Linked DNA regions of Homo sapiens: all the other regions are linked to region 2. The links are contacts of gene promoters, found by promoter capture Hi-C in blood cells and fetal thymus (Javierre and others, 2016). All regions are on one chromosome and are shown on one strand. The core of a region is centred on a gene start or on the middle of the fragment in contact, and the rest is flanking DNA. Distances in the headings are between cores, read along the strand shown.

Region 1 (4,739 bases), core at 1,627-4,126, 410 kb after region 2:
ATAAAAAGTTGAAACCTTTGTAAAATTCTCTGGTTGTCATGTACTTGAACTTTAGTGTAGACACATTCTTTTCTCTTTAATTTTTATAACTTTCAGCCCTTTGCTTCCTGAAGATCAATTTCAAATATGGTGTTTCTCTTGAAATAGATCATTTTAAAAATCATTTAACTTTGATCCATGCAGTTTATATTCTATAAATAGCAACTTCCTGCAAATACTTTCTGCCTTTTGGAATATCACAAAAACTGGCAACTGTGAGAAGGATTAGTGAAAAATCTTACCGACATATAGGCTACCAAATAATCCTTCTTTTAATATTAAGTTAGCGCCTTCTAGGATCTTCAGGGTATGGGAGCTGGGAGGAGATAATGGCATTTTCATACAAATGGAAAGGTTATTTAGAGGTCTATGTCTTCTGAAGTTCCAACCTAAGTGGAATTATGGAGAACTTCAACTAATTACAAAGGAAAACTAAAAGATGATTTAAAAGTAAGACCTATGTTTGTCAGATTATTGACTCAGGCTTAGGCACTAAGCACGGATTATGACTTTTTATTGGGGTGACCATCTGCATCCTCCCCTTCCCCATCCTTGCCCTTTTTTGGTTGTAGATGTTAGGCAGCACCTTTGTTGGCTCCACATCTGTTTTGCTCCTAAGCGTGCTATGTTCTATTAACCATCTCCACCTTTCCCCGTGACTCCCTCTTCAATCTGTCTGCTCATTATATGAGGCCTCTTAACTTCTGTGCTCAAACAACTCTGCTTGGCCTCTGTTACCTGGGTGTAGGAGAGCTGGCTAGCAAATCATTACATGGATTTAACAAACCCAGGTCTACAATTACCTAATCTAGTCAACCCTGGCTTGCAGAAGACACCATCACAGAACTTAGTGACACCAGTGCCTTTCTCACCAGCCTGATACCCTTGGTGAGCAGTGCATCTGAGCCCTCCCATGGAACAGAATCCTCCAGTGAGTCTTCTGACTCATTAGATGCCCATTCTGCCCTCCCACTTCCGTCAGCTTGGTTTGCCACTTCACTCAGGGTTTGGTGTCGCTTGTTCCAGGTCTCCACTTCACTCAGGGTTTGGTGTCACTTGTTCCAGGTCTCACCCTCGCAGCAAGGGTGCCCCATCTCCTAGGGTCCTTGCCAGAGTGTTAAGTCTGTGTCCTGAGAAAGTGCCTGAAGTCGATGAATTCTTGCTTATCCAGTTTTATATTCCAGACCTCTTGGTCAAGCACTCTCATCCAATCTCAGGGGTACTCCCCTAGCTCCTAGTTCAGGAGCCAATTCCTATCTAATTCCTTTTGCGATTTTAGTGTATAGTCTTTTTCTTTCCTTATTAGGCCCAGCACTTCCTCAGCCAGATTATGCTGGGATTTAACACTTCATTATTGCCTGGAGCAGCCCATTGGATGGATGGCCTTGGCTCAAATATGATGGCTAGGATCATCATTCAATTACATTTCCTGCAACTGTAGATTTAAGAGGTGCATTTCATTGGGAGGCTGAGGTGAGAGGATTGCTTGAGCTCAGGAATGAGGCACAATGGTGGCCCACTGCTCTGCAGCCTGGGTAACAGAGCCAGATCTCAACTCTTTTTTTTGAGATGGAGTCTGACTCTGTCGCCCGGGCTGGAGTGCAGTGGCACAATCTCGGCTCACTGCAACCTCTGCCTCCTGGCTTCAGGTGATTCTCCTGCCTCAGCCTCCCGAGTAGCTGGGGGTTACAGGCACGCACCACCACACCCGGCTAATTTTTATATTTTTAGTAGAGACGGGGTTTCACCATGTCGGCCAGGCTGGTCTCGAACTCCTGACCTCAGGTGATCCGCCCTCCTCGGCCTCCCAAAGTGCTGGGATTACAGGCGTGACCAACCACGCCCGGCCCAGATCTCAACTTTTTTTTAAAAAAAGAGAAAGAAAATTGAATTTTCATGGCTGCCATAGTTGTCGTCTGGAAGAGCTGTAATGCGAATCAGGTGTTAAGTGTCCAGTAGAATATGACCAAAAGGAGTTGGCTGCTCTATATATTTTATTTCTAAACTCACTAGGGCCTACCCCTGGCTTTCAGGATTAGATCAAAGCATAAAACTACTTAGGAATGAAATGAAGGTCCTCATCAGATCCAAGGAGTGGGGCAAGAGTGAGCAGAAACTTGACCAGCACATAGTAAAGATAGGTCAGTGATAAGAACTGGGCCAGGCTTATCCTGGAATTCTGTTCTTGGATCAAAAGAGGATACCATGGCAGGGAGACCATGGTAATGATAGTTCTTAACAAAACTGTCCCTTTACATATGATGGTTGACCTCGACATCTGTGCACAGCCATCATTCTGGGATCTTTGTGATATTTCTGGGAGTCACTGTTTTCCTTCTGGGTTGGACTTCTTTCTATCCCAAGTTTTCCTCTTTCTAGTTCCTCTAGCATTTTAACATATTATTTGATAACTTCTTGGGAAAGAGTGCCTTGGGGGTAAAATTTTTGAGATTTGTATGTTTGAAAGTGATTATGCTAATCTTTGGCTGGAAATAGAATTCTACATTCAATGGATTTTTCTTCATTAAATGGATTTGGATTTTTCAGGTCTTCAGTAAGAGTTCTGAAGGCACTGCTCATCTTCATGTTCCTGGTAATGCTATTGAGATAGTGCAAATCCATTCTGGTTCCCAATCCTTTGTATATAAACATTAATTTTTTTTTTCCTGAAACTCTGGACAGTTTTTTTTCCCCAGAGTTTGAAATTTCACAAAGATTTACGTTGGTGTAAACACATATCTAATGTGTTAGGTACCTGGTGGGCCTTTTCAAACTAGTGACTTGTATTTTTTGGTTCCAGGAAGTTTTCTTGCAATTATTTTGTTTTCTTTTTTCTGTTTTTTGGAACTCCTATTATTCATTTTTGTGTTTCTGGACTGGACTAGTCTTTAACATTCTTCTTTTTTTTTTTTTTTTTTTTTTTTGTATTTTTAGTAGAGACAGGGTTTTTACCATGTTTGCCAGGCTGGTCTTGAACACCTGACCTCAAATGATCTACCTGCCTTGGCCTCCCAAATTACAGGCGCATGCCATCACGCCCGGCTAATTTTTGTATTTTCAGTAGAGATGGCATTTCACCATGTTGGCCAGGCTGGTCTTGAACGCCTGACCTCAAGTGATCTGCCCGCCTCGGCCTCCCAAAGTGCTCGGATTATAGGTATGAGCCACCGCGCCCAGCCTAATATTCTTATTTTTCACTTATTTTCCATCTCTGTCTCTGTGTTCTCTCTGGTAGATTTCTTGAACTTTGTCTTCCAATATTTTTATTGAGTTTCTCATTTCTGTTGTGTTTTAAATTTCCAGTAGCTTGTTTTTGTTCTTTGAATGTTCTTTTTTAAATAGCATCCTGTTCTTGTTTCAGATCTCTGAAGATAATAGTGTTACTTTATTTGAAGTTTTCTTCTCTTTGCATAATCTGTTTTCTCCAAGTTGATACCTGTGTCTGTTCTGGTCTTTGTTTTTGTTAGTAGCTTTCCTCAGTGTCTGATAAACCTTGGCTGTCAGTTCCTAACAAACACATGCATGGAACTTGTCAACTTTAAACTTCATCACTGGGTAATCTGGGAATCACCCGCATCGGAGTGTTGGGGATTTTTCTGTCGTGCAGGCTTGATTCTTTGGAATAGAGTGTTCAGTCTTCTGCTTGGGAGGCAAAAGCGTCTAGCTGCCAGTTCGGACACCTTCTGTTTACACTCTTTAGAAGGTAAATCTCGAAACTCCTGCAGGGATGGAGGGCAGGCAGTCACTTAGTGGGGAAAACTGAGAGGGAATTTACAGCTTTTCAAACATATTTTACCCTAGTTCCCCTAATTTTAGTTCCTGGTCCCTCATCCTCATTTCCAGAAGCAACCAATGCTTTTTGAGGATTCTTTACTCACTACTGTCTTGGGTTCAGTTTTCTAGATCTACTAGATTATTGCCACTCATCCATCTACTTCTCAGCTTCCAAAATTTTATTCCCATTATATTTTTTCCTATTCTTCCTAAGTAGGTGTATGATTATTTTAACAAATGTTTCTTTACTGCAATTTTAATAAGGTTTGAGAGAGAGTAAAGTTAGATGCAGATATACAGTTTGCCTCCTTAACACAGAAGTTTCATTGATATTTGATTAGTCAGAAAATAGCAACAGTACTCCTGAGAAAAGTATTAATAATGTAAATCTAGATGAGACATTGTAATAGTCTTTAGAAAGAGAGCATTAGTAAATGTTGGGACTAAAGCACTGATAATTATAGCATATAAGATGTAATACATTGGAGTGAATTAAGTATGCATGTGTAAATATTAAGTGTAACTACAAAAGAGTATAAAGTGAATGCATAACTTCCAAACTGATATAGAGGATAAAAGAATTAGAGGGCATTCTGTCAGTCCAAAAAGACAGAAAAGAAGCATAGAATAATCAGAGTATCTAGAAAACATAAGATAATGGTACTTATAATCATAATAGGCCAGGCATGGTGGCTCACACCTGTAATCCCAGCACTTTGGGAGGCCGAGGTGGGCGGATCATAAGGTCAGGAGACTGAGACCATCCTGGCTAACATGGTGAAACCCCATCTCTACTAAAAGTAGAAAAAATTAGCCGGGCTTGGTGGCGGGCACCTGTAGTCCCAGCTACTCGGGAGGCTGAGGCAGGAGAATGGCGTGAACCCGGGAGGCGGAGCTTGCAGTGAGCCGAGATTGCGCCAGTGCAC
Region 2 (5,298 bases), core at 1,279-3,778:
TTTCCCTCTCCTATATCAATTTTTCTCCCTTTACATGCAAGTATGCCTCAGCATCTCCCATCTTCAAAATGCCCTCCATTGACCACACCGCCTTATCCAGCTGTTGCCCCCAAGTTAAGTTGTCTCCCTTTTGTCACCTTACATTTGCTTCTCAAACTGTTAAAGCAGTTATTTAAATCTCACTCCTCCCAGAGACCGCTCACATCAAAGCTACCAGTGATTTCTATATTGCTGAATCCAATAGTCTTGACATCAATGTTATCATGTTCTTTCTGATTTTCCTCCTGCCTCCGTGCTTCCTCTTCATACTTTACTTGACCTCTACATGGTGAAGGGTCCTAGAGCTTTGTTCTTGGCCCACTTCTTTTTAGCTACACATATTCCTAGGTCATCCAACCAAGCCCCAAGTCTATAAATGGCCATGACTCCAGTTTATTCAAATGTCTACTACTTGGCAGTCATGGATGTCTAAAAGGCATCTCAAACTTAGCATGACCAAACCATAGCTCTTGATTTCCCTACCCCCAGCCTGCTCCTCCCCAAAATGTTTCACATCTTAGAAGTGCCAGGACTATCCACTCAGTTCCCCAAGTCAAAAATCTAGAAGTTATTCTCGAATCCTCTCTCCCTAACCAACTCAACATCTAACCCATTAGCAAGTTCCACAGACTTTACTCCAAAATATTTAAACTCTAATTATTTCGGTCTCCACCACTATCAGCCACAACGAAGCCACTTGCTGGCATGCACTTCTGGAACAGCATCCAATTGGTGGACTTGATTAACTTTTGCCACATAACCACCCCCAAAACTTTGTGACTTAAAACATTATTTCTCACATTCTGTGGGTTGGCTGGTCAGTTCGTCCGATCCATGTGGTTGTGGCCAGGGAAGGATAGTCCGGGAGAGCTTCACATGTTCGCAGTTGGTTGGTTGTCAGCTGGATGTGGGCCGTGACTTGACCACGTGTCCCTCATCATCCATCAGGCTAGCCCACACTCATTCCTAAAATGGTGGTCACAGGACTCCCAAGTTCAGCAAGAGGGCAAGCCCCAACTCACAAGTGTTTTTTAAGCCTCTGCTTGCACGATGTTAATGTCCCACGTCCACAGCAAGTCACAGTCCAGTGCAGTCAGTGGGGGTAGACACCACCAAAGAGTATAATTTGGGAGACTGGAAATAATTTGTGGCTATTTTCACAATCTGCCACACTCATCTCCCTATTTCCACCTCCTTTGCCTCTCTGAAATCCATTTTCCACACAGCAACCCAAGTAATCATTTTTAAACACACGCACACTCATTTCACTCCCTGGTCCAAACTTATGGCTTCGTTTAAAATACAACCCCTGTTATGAATTTTAAAATCCTTCCGGGATCTGGCCTCTGCCTACCTGCCCAGCTCATCTAGTACCGTCGACTCCTTGCCTACTGTGTCCCAGCAAGAGTGATCTTTTGTTTCCTTGAATACAGAAAACTCCTTCATGCTTCAGATCTTTGCATTTGTTCCCTTTGACTGAAATACTCCTCCCCCTCATATCTGCGGGGCTGGCTTTGTCATTCACATTTCAGCTTAAAACTCATTACAGCGATCTTCCCCGTGCAGCCAATTTAAGAATGACTTCACCTTACTTAAATTTTCTGCAAAGCACATACCAGTGATATTTTGTATGTCCCTGTTCCTGTTTATCACGGCATTCCCGAGGGCCTACAACACTGCCTGGCACATAGGAAGCACATAACAAACATTTGTTGAATTAATGCAGAGCTGCATACTACGTCCCAGGATTGTGCTAAGCTACGGTTACTGTACCCTTCCCATCTCAGCAGGATAGTTTCACAAAATGTAAATTCCACATTGAGGATTAATTGGATGCACGTTACACCTCATCCCACACCAGTAACTCGTCTTCCTCTATTTCCCCACCACTCCCCTTGCCAAATAAAAGGTGAGGAAGCATTTGGAAAACTTAGGGTCATCACTCTGGTCTTTTGCCACATTTCGCTGGCTTCATCGAGCTCAACGCAACATGAACTACTAACAGCAGCAGCACCTGAGATGAGAGGGTGAATGAAGGTAGGAGATTTCACCGCCCGCGGGCGGCAAGGGATCTGCCGCAGCTCTAAAGCACTGCATGCTGGGAGTTGTAGTCTCCCGGGGAGGCCTGGTCTGGTAGGACCGGGGCCCCCGCGGCATGCAGGGAGTTGTAGTCGAAGGGCTGTTGAGACTCCGCCTCTGCACTTATAGTAGCAAGGGGGAATCCTCACTGCATGCTGGGAACTGTAGTCTTCCTGGGTCCCCGTTCCTCCAGGACGCGGAGGCGCCGGAGTTGCCGCCATTTTAGGTCCCGAGGTGCGCCGGCCGAGAACCAGAGCGCAGGCGGGCTCAGTCCTGGCGCCGGGCCGGCCCCGCCCCCGGGGCGCCTGGCGCCCGCCCCTTGCTCAAGCCCCGCCTTTCCCCACGTGTCTGCCGCCTAGGGGAGGTGCCTCATCCGGAGCGGGCCGCCAACGGTCCGGCCCCGTCCGCACAGACGCTCCTGTCGGCGGCGCCCGGGAGCGGCTCGGCTGCCCGATGCTTCCGCCCCGGCTGCCGCGGGCCGGGCTGTACGCTTAGTGCCCGGCTCAGGCCCCCTGAAGCGCCCGCGGGGGTGAGAGCGGCCTCCGGCCCCGCGGAGACGGAGCGGCTTGAGGACGAGGCGGCGGCCGCGGGGAGGAGGATGGGGGCTAACCAGTTAGTGGTGCTCAACGTGTACGACATGGTGAGTGCGGCCCCTGGCGGCCCCGAGCCCTGGCCCAGGCCGGCTTCCTCTCGCCCGTGGGGCTCGGACCCCGGCCCCAGGCGCTTCCTGCCTGGCGTCTCCGCCTCCAGCCTAGTTCTCGGGGGAAGCCGGGGGTGAAGGAGGGAGTATTGTTATTTTTTAATCCTCGCACTCGTCGACGCTCCGGTGAACCCAGTCAGCCCGAGGGTTTTGGCCAAAGCTCGGGTGGGCTTGAACCTCTCCCATCCGCTCAGCTTGGACCCGACCCCGGCTCTGGGCCCGACCCCTTGGCCGACGTGCAGTGTCCTTTCGGCAAAGCTTCCGTTGCGTTTCCAACCCCACTTGCCGGCCCCCGGGGCTGCCCCGGGACCCCCGTCCCGACCGCCTGCGCTCCCAGCTCCTCTGCTTCTGCCGAACTGTCCGTCTCTCTCCATGGCTACGTCTTCAGAAACTCCCAAGCCCCTCTAAGTCCAGAAGGTCACAGCTTTCGGGTGCCTGTGCTAGAATCTCTTCAAAGGTGAACAGGAGCCAACACACCCTTTCCTTGTGTGTTAAAGGCAACCTCGTTAAAATATGAATGAGGCTAACATTTCTCAAGAAAATAGCCCAGCTGAATTATTTAGAGATCCTGGTGGTGCTCCTTTCCTACACTCTGAAGACCACTTTCCAGGTGATGCAACAGGTGACGTGACCACGGGAGAGGGAAGGGAAGAAGTTGTTTATTGTATCATCTAACTTTGGAGTATGGCAAGCACGCAGAATCGAGTCCAAGAACTGGTTTGCCTGATTTTTGCAGTGAAATGCCCCCAGAAAAAAGCACCCGGTAGAGAATTGTCGTTGCAGTTAGATGCATGTTTGGGTGTGTTTGCTTGCTTTGTTCTGTAGAATGGGTTTTTGTTCTGTAGACTGGATTAGTACCTCTGACTGCAGTGCTTAAAATTCCTTGTAAGTTGACTGACAAATGAAAAATTGCCCGTCGTTATTTTTGTTGGCTTAAAGATGCAGGAGAGCAGAAATACTACAGGCCAAGAGTCTTATACAGTTCTAAACTTTGTATTCCCTTGTATTATTTATAAGTTTCTAAATTTACAGTGTTATTATATCTTGGGTAGAGTGGGATTTCTCATGCCATATCTGGGAATTGTGTCAGAAGGGTGTAGGAACTGCCTGCCACTTGAGATGAGTCCTCTGTTGAATTCTGATGTGAGCCTGGAGATGAAAGGAGATGAGTTAACATGCTGAGAAAAGTGGAACAGGACAGAAAAAGTTGAAGAGGAGAATAAGCCAAACAAAAGATCCTAGAAAACCATGGCACTTTGTAAGTTCTGTGGCCTGTGTCACTGGTTGAGAAATAATTCTCTGGATTTAAACTTTTTGTGTTCAGCTGAACACCTTTATCTTTCAAGACTCTTAACTGCCCTTTTACTTTCTCTGTGCACATCCCCCTAATCTGAATTTGGTTTGTTTTTTATTCATGAGGGCTATTACTGTCTTTCAGAATATATTCTGCTCTTGAGATCACAGTGTGCCTTTTCTCCTAGATTATTAAACAAACCCGTATTTAAATTAGGAGTATACAGTGGCCAGAAGCCATGGTTTCAGAGCCTAAAAGAATTTGTGAGAATAGAGGAAGAGAGTTTTACCTTTTATATGAAAACGAAAATGCATGTTTTGGCATATAGTGGGCTTCTTTACACTTGAGGCATTCTGTGATACAGGAAAATCTGCAAATTGTGGTCGATTGGGAAAAGCTAGAGATGGTATTCAGTATTTTCGAAGGGAGGACTGTTCTGAACGATGTTAAAATATTGACTAATGAGCGAGATCTTATTCTTCACATCAAGTTTGTAAAATAGGTAGTTAGAGAAGCAGCAGACAGGGGAGAGAGTAAGTGATCTGCCTAAACAACTAAAAATACAATCTAGAATTTGTAGACCAAAATCTGATTCACTATCTTCTCTACTAATTCCTGCACTTATGTCTTTATATTGCTTTTGCCTGTGAACAGGAGATGAAGCATATGAATGTTTATCGGAATGATAAATAGTTGAATTATTAGACTTTTAATAAACTTGGTCTTATATGTTCTTTTGAGGGCTTTGAGTGTTTTATGTCACTAATTCAGCAACCTACCATTACTTATTATTTTTGACCTGGTAGAAGCCACAAGGATGAGTTAACTGTCCTTTCTTCTTTAAGGAATTTAGAGTATTGTAGAGGAGATACACAACAGTGGCAACAATTCAAGACAGAATAGCATGGTTTTGATAAGAGCAGACAAGGATGCAAAGGAGGAGACTATGTAGTTGTAGGATCAGGGAATGCTGAAAAATCAAAGGTATGAAACTTGAAGAATGGGTAGCATCCACAAGGACAGAGAACAATTGACGTGAACAAAATGGCAGGAATAGGGAAAGCGCAGGTGGGATTTGGGAACTATCAGCTGGTCCAGTATAACTAGAGTAGAGCATAAATGAAAGGAGACAAAACTGAAAGTTTGATTAGAACTTCTTTAGTCAGATGTGTTGTGGGCTTGGGTG
Region 3 (5,266 bases), core at 1,438-3,937, 270 kb after region 2:
CAATTCTGCAGAGGCAGCCTCTGACATTGCGTTGAAAGGGTCCACGCACTCTGTGAGCTCATATTTATGACATACATAGGGTTCTCTTTGCTGGGCAGTTCTTTCCCTTGTGTTGAAGAGACACGTGATAGTTGACCCTCACCTCACGGCTCCCTCACTTGTGAATTAAAGTCAGACACTGCCGTAAGGTTCTTCTGGTTCCTGCTTTGTGGAGAAAGCTTTCAGCAGCAATATCTGGGATCACTGGTGTATTAAATGTCAGGCCTCGCATCATTATTCTGCCCTGAGCTGATGGTAAACCGGGCACCCAGCCTTTTAGCTTTCATCCAGCACGAGGGAACTTGCCTTCAGATGTGACACGTACAAGTCAAAAAAGCTCAGAGTCAGCTCCAACGTCTATTGGATCCCACTCTATCGCCTTTAAAAAGGAAAAGAAAATCGAATTCACAGAACCGAGGCTAAATACGACCGTTAAGAACGGACTGCATTCACCATATTTCCATGAGAGTGGCAAAGAGAACAAAGATAAATGCCAGGCTACATCTTGGATCCTTTGCCAGCTTGTGGAAGAACTTAGCAGAAAAAGATGTGAACTCTACTGTTTAGGAATAAAATAACTTTTAAAAATAAATTATTGAAAAGTGTTATTTGGCTGTTTCTTTTATGCATTCAAAAGCAAAATAGTAAGAATCCAGTGGACTTTGAAATCTTCCTATATGTTAAAAAATAGGCCGGGCGCGGTGGCTCACGCTGTAATCCCAGCACTTTGGGAGGCCGAGGCGGGCGGATCACGAGGTCAGGAGATCGAGACCATCCTGGCTAACACGGTGAAACCCCGTCTCTACTAAAAATACAAAAAATTAGCAGGGCGTGGTGGTGGGTGCCTGCAGTCCCAGCTACTCGGGAGGCTGAGGCAGGAGAATGGCGTGAACCCGGGAGGCGGAGCTTGCAGTGAGCCGAGATTGCGCCCCTGCACTCCAGCCTGGGCGACAGAGCGAGACCCTGTCTCAAAAAAAAAAAAAAAAAAAAAAAAAAAAAAAAAATAATAATAATAATAATAATAATAATAATTAGAGTCCACCTAAGGTAAGAATCTAGGACTCATTTTTGTATTGAAATTTCATTCCTTGTAATTCATATTTTTTCATGTGATCCCTGAAATAAATTAAAAAAGAAAAAAAAAGGTACCAGTGCTCGTAAGTAGAAAGTGGAGAACTAAACGACTCCAAAATGTGCAATATGTTGGGCACTGGTGGCCAGCTGGTAAAAATCTTATGAGAGTTGCGGGTTTTCGAAATATATGTAATTTAGTTATCTGTCAAAATGAGATCCGCATCTACATGGCTTTACCCAGGAATGCAGAATTTGAGACTGGAGCGTAGGGAGGGAGAAGCCTATGGGTCTTGGGTTTTCCGGAATTGGATTATAAATACGAACAGGTTTAAAGAAATAATGAGGCCGGCAGCGTGTGCGAGGAGCCCCGCGCTTCCTGGGCACCACGCGGCGGGACCCGGGGAGGCAGGCGGGGACCCGGGGAGGCAGGCGGGGACCCGGGGAGGCAGGCGGGGACCCGGGCAGGCAGGCGGGGACCCGGGGAGGCAGGCGGGGACCCGGGCAGGCAGGCGGGGACCCGGGGAGGCAGGCGGGGACAGGCACCAGCCCACTTGACAACTGCGCGCACCGGCGCAGCCGGCAGCTCGGGGGCGCGCACACCCACACCGCGCCACGTGCGCGCGGGGGCTGCGGAGACTACCCGAGCCGCGTGGGCGCGTCAGAGCCACCTCCGCTCTCTCTCACGTCGCCAGGGATTCTTGACGGATGATTCCGCTGTCAGATGCCAGCTTGCCTCTGTCACACCGTTTTCCTGAACGCAGTAGCCATGTATTTGAAAGCCGTGTCATGTGTGAAACGAGTTTACCTTGTAGATTAGGATAAACAAAGATTCTCCGTGCTCATCCAAAAGTCCAAAGCCCCCTCCGCTCTGCAATTTCCACTTGTTATATGCAGAACTATTCTCACCTCGGGAATGTGATGGTTTTATAACTGTGGGGGCCCAAATGTACTGACTAGGACTGTTTTCCCGCACTCACCATGAGGAGGTGTTCAGTTGGACATGTGCCTAAGGATTTTTGTTGGCTTTTTATTTAGTATTTGCTCATTTTGGAAAAAAAAGTACAAACTACCTTCGAGCTGGGAGCTACACAGAGAGGCTTGCTCAGATTCAGATTTGTTTTGGTATGTCTGTTTCATAGGCTGCAGACTTCCTACTGTGTCACATCCAGTGCGCATCATACCTGCTGGGGTGTCTCTCAGGGATGTTAAGATTGATCAGTGGGCTCGGATCCTGTCAACCCGATATGTCCATTATAAAGTTCTCCTTCAGCTCTTCACCTGTGGTTTCAGCAGCCATTGATAATCATTGCTTAGATACTTCATTTCATTAGAGGTTGCAAAATGGCAATATTTTAATTTATCATTTCTTTCATGTATCAGCAGGATCTTTTCCCATCAATTATTTGGCTACCCTAAATACAGTTCATACAGGAAGGGCAAAATAAATACTTGATCCTTACTCTTTATTTTTGGAATAAAGAGTTGTTTCCTTAGCACTCTCCAAAGGTGACCAATCCATCTATTTTTGGAGCATTACTCTCAACCGGTGGATGTTACCATACTTGATGTGTCTTAATATGCTACAGTATTTATTTACTTATTTATTTGATGGCCCAAATACCCCACTTTCAGCCAGGGCTCCTGTAGCCTTCTGACACAACCATAGAAGTCTTTGACGTATTATGAAAGACTATGTAATATTCCAGGGGTCAGAGGAAGATATTAAATGACATCATGGGGAAGCAAAATCAGCAAAATTTAGAAAGTGAGAAACTCTACAGCACGCATCATTCAGTTTCTTCAACAATAGATTGCAAGGGGGTAGAGAAGGAGGGCGTGAAACTCCTCTAGGGTCAGAAGAGACCAAGAAACTTCAGACAAAAGCAACATCCGGACTTTGTTTGGATACTGGTATTTTTTTGTTTTTTTTTTTAGATTGTAAAAAAAAGAGTTAAGGAGATGGATGATGGTAATGGTTGCACATTATGAATGGATTTAATACCACTGTTTACTTAAAAATGAATAAGATGGTAAATTTTATGTTATGTGTATTTTACCATGATAAAAATAATAAATTAAAAAATAATAATTTGGCTGGGCACAGTGATTCATGCCTGTAATCCCAGCATTTGGGGAGGCTGGGGCAGAAGGATTGCTTGAGGGCCAGGAGTTCAGGACCAGCCTGGGTAACATAGTGAGACCCTGTCTCTACAAATAATTAAAAAATTAGCCAGGCGTGGTGGCACATGCCTGTGGTACCACCTTTTTGGGAGGCTGAGATGGGGGGATTGCTTGAGCCTGGGCGATTGAGGCTGCAGTGAGCCAGGATCACACCACTGCACTCTGAATGACAGAGCAAGACCCTATCTCAAAAAAAAAAAAAAAAGCAAAAGTAAAATAAAATAATTTATGAGAAAATCAAGGAAATTTGAATGCTGGCTGGCTTTTTGATGATATGCAGGAATTACTATAAAAATGCGTAGGAGTGGCAATATGATTGTGGTTATGTTAAAAAATATTCTTTCGATTTTAAAGACGCATAGTGAAATAGTATAGATGAAATTGTATCTCGAATTTGTTTCAAAATAACCTAGTGGCAGTAAGGAGAGAAAGTAATTGTGGTATGATGGATAATCATTGAAGCTGGGAGATGGGTACCTGGGGGTTCACTGTGTTCATCTGTCTGGTTTTATATATGTTTGGAAATTGCATAATAAAAAGTCTAAAATTTATTTTAAAGTACAGATTACCCTAGAAGGAAGCCGAAGAGGAACTGATAGTGGTAGAACTACACAAACTCCATAAATAAAGTCTTGCCTAATTCAGACATGTGCTACCACCTGCCAGCTGCAGTGGTGGAGTAAGAGGAAAAGCCCAGTGACTAAGCAAGGAGAGTAACTGTCTTATATTATCGAGGGATGCTCCGGGCCTGTGCTAGGTGCTTTGTATGCTTTTAACTCATTTAATCCTTACAATAGTCTTATGAGATAGATACTATTATGTTAGTATAATATCCACACTACAAATGGAAAAACTGAAGTTCAGAGAAGCCACTCTCTTCATAAACAGCAAAGATAGGCTTCAATCCATGTGGTCTGGCTTTGGAGCCAGTCTACTGATAAGAGCAACATAAGTAGCTCTTAATAGATGCCAGCCCTGTTTTAAGTGTTTTGTGTCTATTAATTCATTTAATACTCACAATAACCCTATGAGGAAGATACTCTCATAGGACCCATTTTACAGATGAGAAAGTTGAGATACAGGCAGGTGAAGTGACTGTGTAAGATCACACAGCTGGCACACGGCAGAGCCAGATGTTAAGCTGGGAGTTTGGGCTCCACCCCACCCTGCTGCCCCTCACATTATTAACCACTGGGCTACAGTGACAGCTAGCTATGCAGGCTCTTTCCTTCCTTAATAAACATTTATTGAGCACCTGCAAGAGGCAGTCTCTGTTAGAGGCGCTGGGATATGGTGATGAACAAGACACATTTTGCTTTACCTTCCGGTGACATACAGTCTCCCAGTCCCTGAATCTCTTAGGAGCTAATTTAGGAGATGAAGGGGTTAAACTCAGAAGCTCAGGCTACCGTGTTGGCACTTTCTTGTTTTAAGCTGAATTGGCCAGAGGGTGATGCATGCCTGTAATCCCAGCTACTCAGGAGGGAGGATCACGCAGGAGTTCCAGGCCAGCCTGGGCAACAGGGCGAGACTCTGTCTCAAAAAAAAAAAAAAAAAAAAAAAGTTGAATTGGAAAGAGCATTGGATCAGCAGCCCAAGAAGGGCGCTTCTGAACTTGAAAATGTCAGAGGTAAGGCTGTGAAGGAAGTTGCCTGTGGATCCTACTGCTCTACCCACTGGGTCCAGTAGGTCCCTTTCCGCTAGACACCATTCTCATTTCTTTCCTAGAATCCTCTCTCTCTTCTGCTGGGTTCTGTTCAACCCCAACTTCTTCTCTGCTTCGGAGCTCAATGAGCTCCTCTTCTCTGAAATCTCAATGCCCTTGTTGGTTGCACTAATCAATTCAATACTTAATTATATACAAAGCTTGATTGTTATCCAATAATTTTACTACGTATGTCTTGCCTCCTCACTTAAACTGTACATATTTACAAGACAGAGACTAGGTCTTATACTTCATTGATATTCTCCC
Region 4 (5,250 bases), core at 1,942-4,441, 370 kb after region 2:
CTTTGCCAGCACTTGTCATTTCTGTTGGTTTTTTGGAGGGGGGTGTTGTTGTTATTGTTGTTTCTCTAATAACCATCCTACTGGGTGTGAAATGGTATCTCACTGGGGCTTTGATTTGCATTTTCCTAATGATTAGTAATATTGAACATCTTTTCATGTACTTATTGGCCATTTGTACATCTTCTTTGGAGAAGTGTCTAGTCTTTGCCCATTTTTAAACCAGGTTGTTTTATTTTGTTGGTTTTTGAGTTGTAGGATATGTGTTTATTTTTAACGTGAATGGTATGATACTATATAAACCATTCTGCACTCTGCTTTTTTTACTTATCAATATATCTTGACTATTTATTAATATATAAAAATTGGCTGGGCGCAGTGGCTCAAACCTGTAATCCCAGCACTTTGGGAGGCCGAGGTGGGCAGATCACCTGAGGTCAGGAGTTCAAGACCACCCTGGCCAACATGGTGAAACCCCGTCTCTACTAAAAATACAAAAATTAGCCATGCATGATGGCGGGTGCCTGTAATCCCAGCTACTTGGGAGGCTGAGACAGGAGAATCGTTTGAACCCGGGAGACGGTGGTTGCAGTGAGCCGAGATTGTGCCACTGCACTCCAGCCTGTGCGGCTGAGCGAGACTCTTATCTCAAAAAAAAAAAATTATCCTTATTTCATTGTATGGATGAATCATAATATATTGAATTAATCTCCTTACTAATGGACGTTTAAGTTGTTTCCAGGCTTTTGCTATAATAGCTCATGCTGCAGAGAATATCTTAGCATGCATATCATCTCACAAAAGTGAGAACTTTTTCTCGGTAAATTATTGGAAATATGTCAAAGGGCTTGACAATTTTTGGTAGATGTTGCTATCTTGATGATAGAGTCTCTCATCTTGTGTGAGAGTACCAGTTTCTTCAGTCCTTCTGAAACAAGCTTTAATTATCAAGCATTGGGATTTTTTCCCAATCTAATATGTGAAAAATAGAAACTCAGTGTTAATTTTCTTTTTCTTTTCTTTTCTTTCTCTTTTTTTTTTTTTTGAGACAGAGTCTCGCTCTGTTGCCCAGGCTGGAGTGCAGTGGCACGATCTCAGCTCACTGCAACCTCTGCCTCCTGGGTTCATGCCATTCTCCTGTCTCAGCCTCCTGAGAAGCTGGGATCACAGGCTTGTGTCCACCTGGCTAATTTTTGTATTTTTAGTAGAGATGGGGGTTCACCATATTGGTCAGGCTGGTCTCGAACCCCTGACCTCAGGTGATCCACCCACCTTGGCCTCCCAAAGTGCTGGGATTACAGACGTGAGCCACCATGTCCAGCCTAATTTTCATTTTCTAAATTAGAACATCTTTCATATCTCTTAAAACTGTTTGTATTTCCTTTTGTTTGACCTGACAGTTTATGATTTTTCCCCATTTCTTCCCACTGAATTATTGATCTTTTTCTATATGAAAGGTCTCAGCCTTAGTCATGATGTGTCTGTCATCTATCTTTTCACTCTACTTTTACTTTCTGGCATGCAGATTTTTTTTTTTAATTTAGTCAAATTACACACCTTTGGAGTATGGATTTAATTTTTGGAAACAAACGAATGTCATTTCGAGTAGTTTTAGTAGAATAAATTTAGGTTCCCCTAAATAAAGCTAATTTGGTGGGGACAAAATACACCCACAAGGAGTGCCTCTAAGGTAAAGAAGATAATTTTTCCATGTAGCTGATAAATTTAATTTGAAAATGACTCTAATCTTATTCACAAACAAATCCAGTTTTTTTGTAATCTAATGGAATAAAAGTACACCACAAGTCCGTAGAGACAGTTGCTGGCTCTATCATGCATTTTCTATGTGTCACCCTCTTTTTATTTCATTTTCCTTATCTATAAAATTGAAATAAAAATGCCAGCACCACTTAAGCCACAAGAGTATAAGAATATCAAATAAAAAATATCAACTTACTTTTTTTAACACTCCATTCTAATCAATTTCAGAACAGGTTGATACTCAAGAATTTGGTGAGCTAAAATGAGATGGGGCCCAATCCTGGAATAAAAGTGCCAATCTTTCCCCTTTCCCAAGCCACACCCATCTGTCCTGTTCCTATGCTTCAATGCCTTTACAGTGCGACCTTATTTTTAGTATTCCAGACTATTCTGTGTGATATGGTTTCACTGTGTCCCCACCCAGATCTCATCTTGAATTGTCGCTGCCATTATCCCCACATGTTGTGGGAGGGACCCGGTAAGAGGTAATTGAATCATAGGGGCAGGTTTTTCCCATGCTGTTCTTGTGGTAGTGAATCAGATGATTTTATAAAGGGCAGCTCCCCTGCAGACGGTCTCTTTCCTGCCGCCATGTAAGATGTGCCTCTGCTCCTCCTTCGCCTTCCACCATGATTGTGAGGCCTCCCCAGCCATGTGGAACTGTGAATCCATGAAGCCTCTTTTTCTTTATAAATTACCCAGTCTCGGGTATTTCTTCATAGCAGTATTAGTGGTATGAGAATGGACTAGTACACTGTGTTTACTTTATACCTGCCCTATCTATAGGAGATTTTCCCTAATATTTTCTTAATCTTTAGACAAATTTTGCAGTCCAGCAGCACCAAGTATCCACTTGCTAATACAGTGAGTCTCTTTTTTCATTGCTTCCATCTTCAACTCAGTATAAGTCTCTGAGGCTCTTGGTATCCAATATTTATTTCTTTTACTGATAGGGAGACTTCAGCTTCGTTAGCAATTGGCAGGAACCTTGAGTGTACTAGGTCCTGTCTAAAATTCTGTAAGAAATAGTAACAATAACTTATTTGTAATGGATTAGAAATAACTTTTCCTAGGAGCACTGGAGGTACCATAAATATTACTTTTACTTCTTCACATATAGTGCTGTTTTGAAGAGATATTAAAATAACATTTCGCAATTCATGTTTATCAGGTAGTAGAAAGTGTGAGCAATGTGGAGAGATTGCATGGACAGTTCCCCCAAGACAGTTATTATCTGAGAAAGCTGGAAGCTACTCAGAGAGCTTTATAAAAACTGTTATCGATACTGGGTCTGCATTTGTGCAATGGAAAAACATGGAAGAGGAATGGGAATTGCTGGGTCCACACACCCCTCAATAAGAAATGAATTGTAAAAACAGGTTTATTCATGCAGTGATTGTTCACATGTATGAATGAAGTGAATGATGAACTAAGACTACATGTGTAACTTGGATAAATCTCAAAAAACAACGTTGAATTTAAAAAATTACAAAAGGACGGAAACATAGTACCATATATATACACTTTAAATACACAAAATAATAGTAAATATTGTTTATGAATACAAATATATGCATGGAAATGATAAGGATTATCCTCAGAATAGTGGTGTGATTGCATCTGAAGATGAAAGGAGAAGGGATGAGGAGTGGAATGTTAGCTGTTTCTGCAATGCTTTCTTGTCAGGAAAAAAATTCTGAAGAAAATGTGGCAAGATGTTAACATCTGTTAAATCTTGGTATTGGCTGTCGTATTTTCTCCTGTACTTTTCTCTGAAATACTGTACAACTACACATAAAAATAAATATTTTTAAAAGAGTGATTTATATCTTATCTCTTTACCATCTCACTTTGTAGTTGCTTTGTTAAAAATTGGTTTCTTATCATGGTCCTTTTGATGAACTGGGATTAAAGAAAAGAGTCAAAGAGAATTTTTTAAAGTCATTCCAAATTCTACTTCCTGAAATAATAATTTTTAATGTTAGACTACTATTATTCTAGAGCTCTTTCTATCCCTGTGTAATAAAATAAGTGGATAGAAGGGTGGGAAATTAATGAGAAAGGAAGAAGGAGGAAAGGAAAGGAAGGAAAAAGATATTGAAGAAAAAATCTAGGATATAATCTTCATGTGGGAAGGACTTACTTTAATTTTACTTGACTGGGACAAAAGAAAAAAAATTAAGTTGAAGAAATTGTGGAATCTCAAATGTTTGTTAGCCATAAGAGACGATATTTATTTTAAGTTCAGAAAAGATTTTGAGAAAAACATTAAGAGACTGTAGTCCTTGTGTGTTTTTTTAAACTATCTATTTCGAATATAAAAAGTGTCAGTTGATTCCTTGCTGTGAAAGATAAGGACATTAGCACTTCCAAAATTCTGTCTACGTTTTCTCTCCCAACCCCCAATTTATCTTAGGTATATTTTTATTTTTACACTGACAAGGTAGAATGTTCATACTTTGTTTAGTATTCACACATATTTTAGTAGTTTTGTATATTTGAATGAAATTACCACTAACCACATTTTCTCATTTTTTTCTCCATCCTTGAATTCTTTGATTTATTTTTGTGTGTTGATTCTCTTGTCAGTTTTTTTTTTTTTTTCAGGAAGTGCTCATGGATGTTTTTGAGACTGGGTCTCCGTCTGTCACCCAGGCAGGAATGCAGTGGTGCCATCACGGCTAACTGCAGCCTCGACCTCCTGGGCTCACACGATCCTCCTGCCTCAGCCTCCTGAGTAGCTGGGACCACAGGTACACGCTACCACACCCAGCTAAATTTTAGTTTTTGTAGAGACAGGGTCTCCCTATGTTGCCCAGGCTGGGCTTGAACTTCCGGGCTCAAGCAATCTGCCTGCTCAGCCTCCCAAAGTGTTGGGATTAGAGGCGTCAGCCACCATGCTGAGCCTCTTTTATCTTTTACATGTTTTTTTTGTGCTTGAATACTTTTTACTTGAATGACATCTTATAAATTTACACAATCATTTCTCATGGCTAAGAAGTGTTCCAATGTGTAACTATACTAGAATTTAACATATTTCCTAATTTTAGAAATGTAGGTTGTTTGTAATATGATGCTGCTGTAATTGTGACTGGGCTAGAATTATTAGTGTGGAACTTTTCAAAGATCTTATTTCTCTCCTGCACTGCCAAAAAATAAACCCTGGATGCCCAATTTATTTTATCTTTACCTTTTCTTAAAGAGGAATATTTTTTTTCTTGTTGGGAGAAGAGATATGTCAATCATTATAGTTACGTTCTGAGAGTGGGATGGTGTGCAGGATAAAGAAGAAACCCACTCTGACCGAGACTGGAAGAGGAGTTTGTTAAAGATGTGGGGGAAGTAAGATTTGAGAGAGAGGAGTGGAACTTGAGCAGTTACAGAATATGAAGGAGCAATCAGGAAAGGGGATTACAGCTTAAAAGTTTTTGAATAGATAATATGTTCACATGTTTAAATCCAAAGAGAATAAAATTCAAAGAAAAGTCCCTG
Region 5 (5,146 bases), core at 1-2,500, 400 kb after region 2:
GTGGCGGGCGCCTGTAATTCCAGCTACTTAGGAGGCTGAGGCAGGAGAATCGCTTGAACCTGGGAGGTGGAGGTTGTAGAGAGCTGAGATGGTGCCACGGCACTCCAGCCTGGTCGAGAGAGCTAGACTCCATCTCCAAAAAAAAAAAAAAACGAAAAAGAAAATGTTATTAAGAAAATCATAAGGGGCTGGTGCAGTGGCTCATGCCTGCAATCCCAGCACTGGCACTTTGGAAGGCCAAAGCAGGTGGATCACTTGAGGTCAGGAGTTTGAGACTAGCTTGGCCAACATGGTGAAACCTCGTCTCTACTAAAAATAAAAAAATAAACTTAGTGGAACATGGTGACACGTACCTGTAATCTCTTATTTGAGAGGCTGCGGCAGGGGAATCGCTTGAACCCCAGAGGCGGAGGTTGCAGTGAGCTGAGATGGTGCCACTGCACTCCAGCCTGGGTGAGAGAGCTGGACTCTGTCTCAAAAAAAAAAAAAAAAAAAGGAAGAGAAAATATATTTACTCCTCCTTAAGAGGAGGTGGATCATCATAAAGGTCTTGATTATCATCTTCACATGGAGGAGGCTGAGGAGGAGGAGGAGGAGGAAGAGGGGTTGGTCTTGTTTCGAGTGGCAGAGGCAGGAGAAAATCCACATCTAAGTGGGCTTGTGTTGTTCACACCATGTTGTTGAAGGGTCCACTGTGCCTTTCTTTTACCTGCAAGGAATGGTAGGCTGATACACAGCCTCATCTCAACTTTTACTTCAGGAAACAATATTTTAGGTCTATCCAGGGTCTCCAAGTTTCTGAAGTACTGAGTGAAAATGTTGTAACTAATATATTTTGTTATGAAACTGAGGATTAAGACATCCTTCATAACCAGCTTCTGAAGCCAAAGTGATACAGATAGTATAACACCAGAGTAAATTGTTGTATAAGTAGTTTATGTATATGAGGCAGGGTTTCTGTTATCCTTTGTTATTACTGTGGTTTTGATGGATGAGAGTGAAATGTGCTTATCTTGTTTTTTTTTTAAATAAAATCTTTTTATTTAAAAAATTTCAAACTTCTAAACGGTAAGAGTGTTGCCCTGAACTCCTGCACACTTTTACTTAGATTCGCCAATCCCTCATGATCTGCCACATTTGTTTTTGCCTCCTCTTTCTCCTTCTCCCTCTCTCCCCCGTTTCTCTCTATATATGCACAAACACACATACCTATTTATACATTTTATTATTATTGTTATTTTCATCATCACCATTTTGCTAGACTATTTGAGAGTAAACTGTAAACATTGTAACCTTTCCCTGAAATGCTTCACTGTGGATCTTCTTTCTTTCTTTCTTTCTTTTTGGAGAAAGGTGTCTTGCTATATTGTCCAGGTGGGAAATGGACATGAACTCCTGGGCTCAAGTGGTCCTCCCACCCCAGTTTCCCAAGTAGCTGGGACTATAGGTGTGCACCGCTGGGGTCTTCCTTTCTTTCTTTTTCTTTTCTTTTTTTTTTTTTTTTTGAGACAGAGTCCCACTCCATCACCCAGATGGGAGTGCAGTAGCTCGATCTCGACTCACGCAACCTCCACCTCCCAGGTTCAAGTGATTCTCATGCCTCAGCCTCTCGAGTAGCTGGACTTACAGGTGTGTACCACTACAGCTGGCTAATTTTTGTATTTCTAGTAGAGACAAAGTTTTGCCATGTGGGCCAGGCTGGTCTCCAACTCCTGGCCTCAAGTGATCCACCCACCTCGGCCTCCCAGAGTGCTGGGATTACAGGCATGAGCCACCGTGCCCAGCCTCAGTGTAGGTCTTCTAAGACAAGAACATTCTCTTACATAAGCCACAGTGTCTGTGTGTGCTCTTAAAAATAACCTTAGAGTCAGATCACTTGGGTTAAGGTGTCATTTGGCTCATTCCTCTGCTTCTTGCAGGTGCATTTCTAAACAGTACAAAACTGATATTTTCTGGGAGTGATAGACCGAAATTCTTATGGGGGCCAGCCTGTGATATAAAAGTGAGAATCTGACAGAGTTCATACTGTACTCATGACATGTATGTATGCCCCACCTAAACAAATAAACACGCCAATCCTAGACTAAAAAAAAACTGTAATAAGAAAAAATCATCAACAACAACAACAACAAAAATACCCGATGGCCAAATTTGTCACTTGGGTCAACAATTTGCGGCCCTGGATCTACGGTCAAAGCTCCCGTGGGGTGGAATATCCACAGCTTTCTTTGGAAGCACTGTGGTATAGTTCAGAAGTTCTCCTTTAAGTCCAAGTGCTTGACTGAGATTTGTGAGAGGCAGCAGTCGCAGTGGCAGGTAGCATGAGAGCTAGGCTGTGTGTGTGAATCCCGTTTCCACCATTTGCTACCGGTGTGATCTTGGGAAAATGTCTTAACCTTTCTGTGGTTCACTTTTCCTCATCTGTAAAATAGTACCTTTCACACAAAGCTGTCATGAGGAAGAAGTGAGGAAGAATATTTAAAGCACCTTACACCAGAGTCTGGCACGCGTAATAAGTCACTGTAGAACTGGATTCTGCGAAGACGAACCTGATGGCTAGAGGCCATCACATCCATGCAGATCATGATCCTGGTATAAGGGGAGAGGGATGTGAGGACTGTTCCTCCTGGAAGACCTAGAGAAGATGTTCATTCTTGAGCCAGAAAGCTACTTAATCTACTTTTCTCCCATTGGGAGTGACTTTCTTTTGTTCTTATCCCCGTTGTCTTTTTTTTCTTTTTTCTTTTCCCTTTTTTTATTAGACGGATTTTCGCTCTTGTTAGTAGAGATGGGGTTTCACCATGCTGGCCAGGCTGGTCTCGAACTCCTGACCTCAGGTGATCTGCCCACCTTGGCTTCCCAAACTCCTGGGATAACAGGCGTGACCCACCGCGCCCAGCCCTCATCCCCGTTTTCTACTCATCCTTCTTGTCAGACTTCTCCCCAGCTCTCTCCTATATTTCCCTAGTGCTGAGGGGGTCACTGCTTGAATATTAACTCTACGTGATCCCTGACAAGTTATTTAATGTCTTTGAGCTTTAGTTTTCTATCTGTAAAGTGGGGACAATAATAGTACCTACCTCCTAGTTGTTGTGAGGGTTCAGTGAGTTAATGTAGGGATTACTGTGTCAGGACAGTCCCTGGCACACAGTAAGTGCTGTGGAACTCTCAGCTATTGGGTAGGATGTGCATCATTCTCTTTAATAGCCATATTCCTCCACGGTGTACTCTATACTTGTGATCTCAATTTTCTTTTTGCTGGCTCTTTTTTGGAGTTTTTTCTTCCTCTTTTTCTCCTCTGCAAGTGCTCTTATTGAGGTCAGTCCTCTTCTTTTTGTCCAGATCTAAGATTCTGCTTATTCTCTTAGCCTTCTGAAATATTTTATTTTTTTACTTTGAGACAGGGTTTCACTCTGTTGCCTAGGCTGGAGTGCAGTGCCACGATCTCGGTTCACTGCAGCCTCAACCTCCTGGGCTCAAGCAATCCTCCCCCAAGTAGCTGGGACTACAGGCATGCGCCACCATACCCCAATAATTTTTAAAAAATTTTTGGTAGAGATGGGGACTTGCCATGTTGTCCAGGCCACCTTCTGTAATACTTTAAACTGTAGCAACCTGGCCAGGCTCATGCCTGTAATCCCACTACTTTGGGAGGCTGAGGTAGGAGGATTGCTTGATCCCAGGAGTTCAAGACCAGCCTGGGCAACATAGCAAGACTCTGTCTCTATTAAGAAAAAAAAAAAATCAGCTGGGCATGATGGTGTGTACTTGTAGTCTCAGTTGCTCGGAAGGCTGAAGCAGGAGAATCGCTTGAGCCCAGGAGTTTGAGTATGTAGTGAGTGTGATCGTGCCACTTCTCCAGCCTGGGTAACAGAGCAGACCCCATCTCCTCAATCCCCCCCACCCAAAAGGAAGACAAAACCATCGATATTATTTTGCAGCCAGAAGCTTGGGGGTAGGGGACAGTAAGGAGGTTATTGGAGAAAGGGAAGTGGAGATGAGGAGGGAAGGGAGGGAGTGGGAGGGAGACACTGGCTGATTGGCTGAGCAGTGGAGAGCTACCGATGGCAGGATTCTGCAGCGCGGTGAGGCATGGGGTGGATGTTGCGAAATGAAGCTGGCGGTTACAAGATAAGCCATTTAGAAGAAGTGTTGTGATTAGTGAAAGGAAGCCGGGAAATAGAATAGAGTGGCGAAGCACCTATCAAGTTTTTTCAAGATAAGGAAGATACCTGAATATTTTAAGGCAAAAGAGGAAACAGCTAATAAAGAAAATAATGAAGATGCTGAGAGGGAGAGGTAATTGTGTGAAGAACAAGAGCTGAGTGTGGAAACGAAAAACTAAGAGGGAGATTTGCTTCTTTGAGGAGGAGCACTTTTTATTTCTCCAAGGCTACGAGCACGAGGCAAGAGCTATAGGACATTCCTCTAAAGTGGTACAAAGTCAGCGACTGTAAAGGTGACGTGAGGATTAATAATAGCACCCAGTGATCGTGCAGTTCACATCTGTTGAGTGCAGTGGGTGATAAGGACGTTTTCTGAGATGAAGGGAGGGAAGTGGGTGATAAGGACGTTTTCTGAGATGAAGGGAGGGAGTACTTTGGAGCTTGAGGCAAGAGATGCTGCAGAATAGCTGTTTTGAGGGAGTTTGCCAGGAAGTCAACAGACGACTGAGCGGATTGTTAGGCAACACCCAGGACAGATTTGATGTTGGATGGGGGTGAATTTGTCATAGGCCACGCTTTTTTATTTTATTATTTATTGCAGCAGTGCTTTGCAGGAACAAAGAAAGTGAAAATTGAGATGTTCAGGATTATGGACTAACAGCAGGCAGGATGGAGGGTGAAGGGCCCAGAGTTCAGGGTGGTGACAGTGGCCATTTTGAGTGGCTGAGTGTAGAGGACTGAGCAGCCGTGTGTAGATTAACTGCCAAGCACAGCTGCGTGAGTGAGCCTAGGCCAAGCTAGCGGAGGAACCACGCAGCCAACCCGCAGGATGGCGGAAAAGAATAAGCCGTGGTTGATTCCATCACTCTGTGGCGGGCAGCTTGTTACACAGCAGTAGAAGATGCATGCCATGCCTTGTGTTGACTGCGCACAGCAGGGAGCCTGAGGCAAGGGAGCCTGGCACAGAAGCAGAGGTCAGT

Evidence for each region. Contacts are between HindIII fragments. The CHiCAGO score rates a contact against its expected background, and 5 or more counts as called.
Region 1: a fragment that was not itself captured here is called in contact with the fragment with the promoter of DESI2 in region 2 in 2 of 17 cell types (neutrophils and monocytes); the score reaches 8.9 in neutrophils.
Region 3: a fragment that was not itself captured here is called in contact with the fragment with the promoter of DESI2 in region 2 in 1 of 17 cell types (activated CD4 T cells); the score reaches 7.2 in activated CD4 T cells.
Region 4: a contact is called between a fragment that was not itself captured here and the fragment with the promoter of DESI2 in region 2, in 2 of 17 cell types (naive CD8 T cells and total CD8 T cells). The highest score is 7.5, in naive CD8 T cells.
Region 5: a fragment that was not itself captured here is called in contact with the fragment with the promoter of DESI2 in region 2 in 16 of 17 cell types (naive CD8 T cells, activated CD4 T cells, neutrophils and 13 more); the score reaches 11.7 in naive CD8 T cells.

What each region holds. Positions count from the first base shown.
Region 1 is chr1:245,062,135-245,066,873 of GRCh38, forward strand. All of the region lies in intron 4 of DRC8 (dynein regulatory complex subunit 8), which reads left to right. Among named protein-coding and RNA genes, the nearest start is that of KIF26B, 90 kb to the right of the region's middle. The HindIII fragment of the contact is 7,671 bases long and covers 1-4,739 here.
Region 2 is chr1:244,650,598-244,655,895 of GRCh38, forward strand. It overlaps DESI2 (desumoylating isopeptidase 2), which reads left to right and starts at 2,529. Exons shown (of 5, transcript NM_016076.5): 1 at 2,529-2,758. The coding sequence starts at 2,717. RefSeq lists enhancers at 1,200-1,773, 2,033-2,192 and a silencer at 2,273-3,042. The HindIII fragment of the contact is 4,542 bases long and covers 1-3,074 here.
Region 3 is chr1:244,917,203-244,922,468 of GRCh38, forward strand. No RefSeq gene overlaps it. Among named protein-coding and RNA genes, the nearest start is that of DRC8, 50 kb to the right of the region's middle. RefSeq lists a silencer at 1,442-1,801. The HindIII fragment of the contact is 4,942 bases long and covers 217-5,158 here.
Region 4 is chr1:245,023,524-245,028,773 of GRCh38, forward strand. The region is part of intron 3 of DRC8 (dynein regulatory complex subunit 8); the gene reads left to right. All of the region lies in intron 1 of LOC107985725 (a long non-coding RNA gene), which reads left to right. Among named protein-coding and RNA genes, the nearest start is that of EFCAB2-AS1, 55 kb to the left of the region's middle. The HindIII fragment of the contact is 4,516 bases long and covers 934-5,250 here.
Region 5 is chr1:245,047,499-245,052,644 of GRCh38, forward strand. All of the region lies in intron 3 of DRC8 (dynein regulatory complex subunit 8), which reads left to right. Among named protein-coding and RNA genes, the nearest start is that of EFCAB2-AS1, 79 kb to the left of the region's middle. RefSeq lists enhancers at 1-33, 4,577-5,078. The HindIII fragment of the contact is 5,391 bases long and covers 1-3,946 here.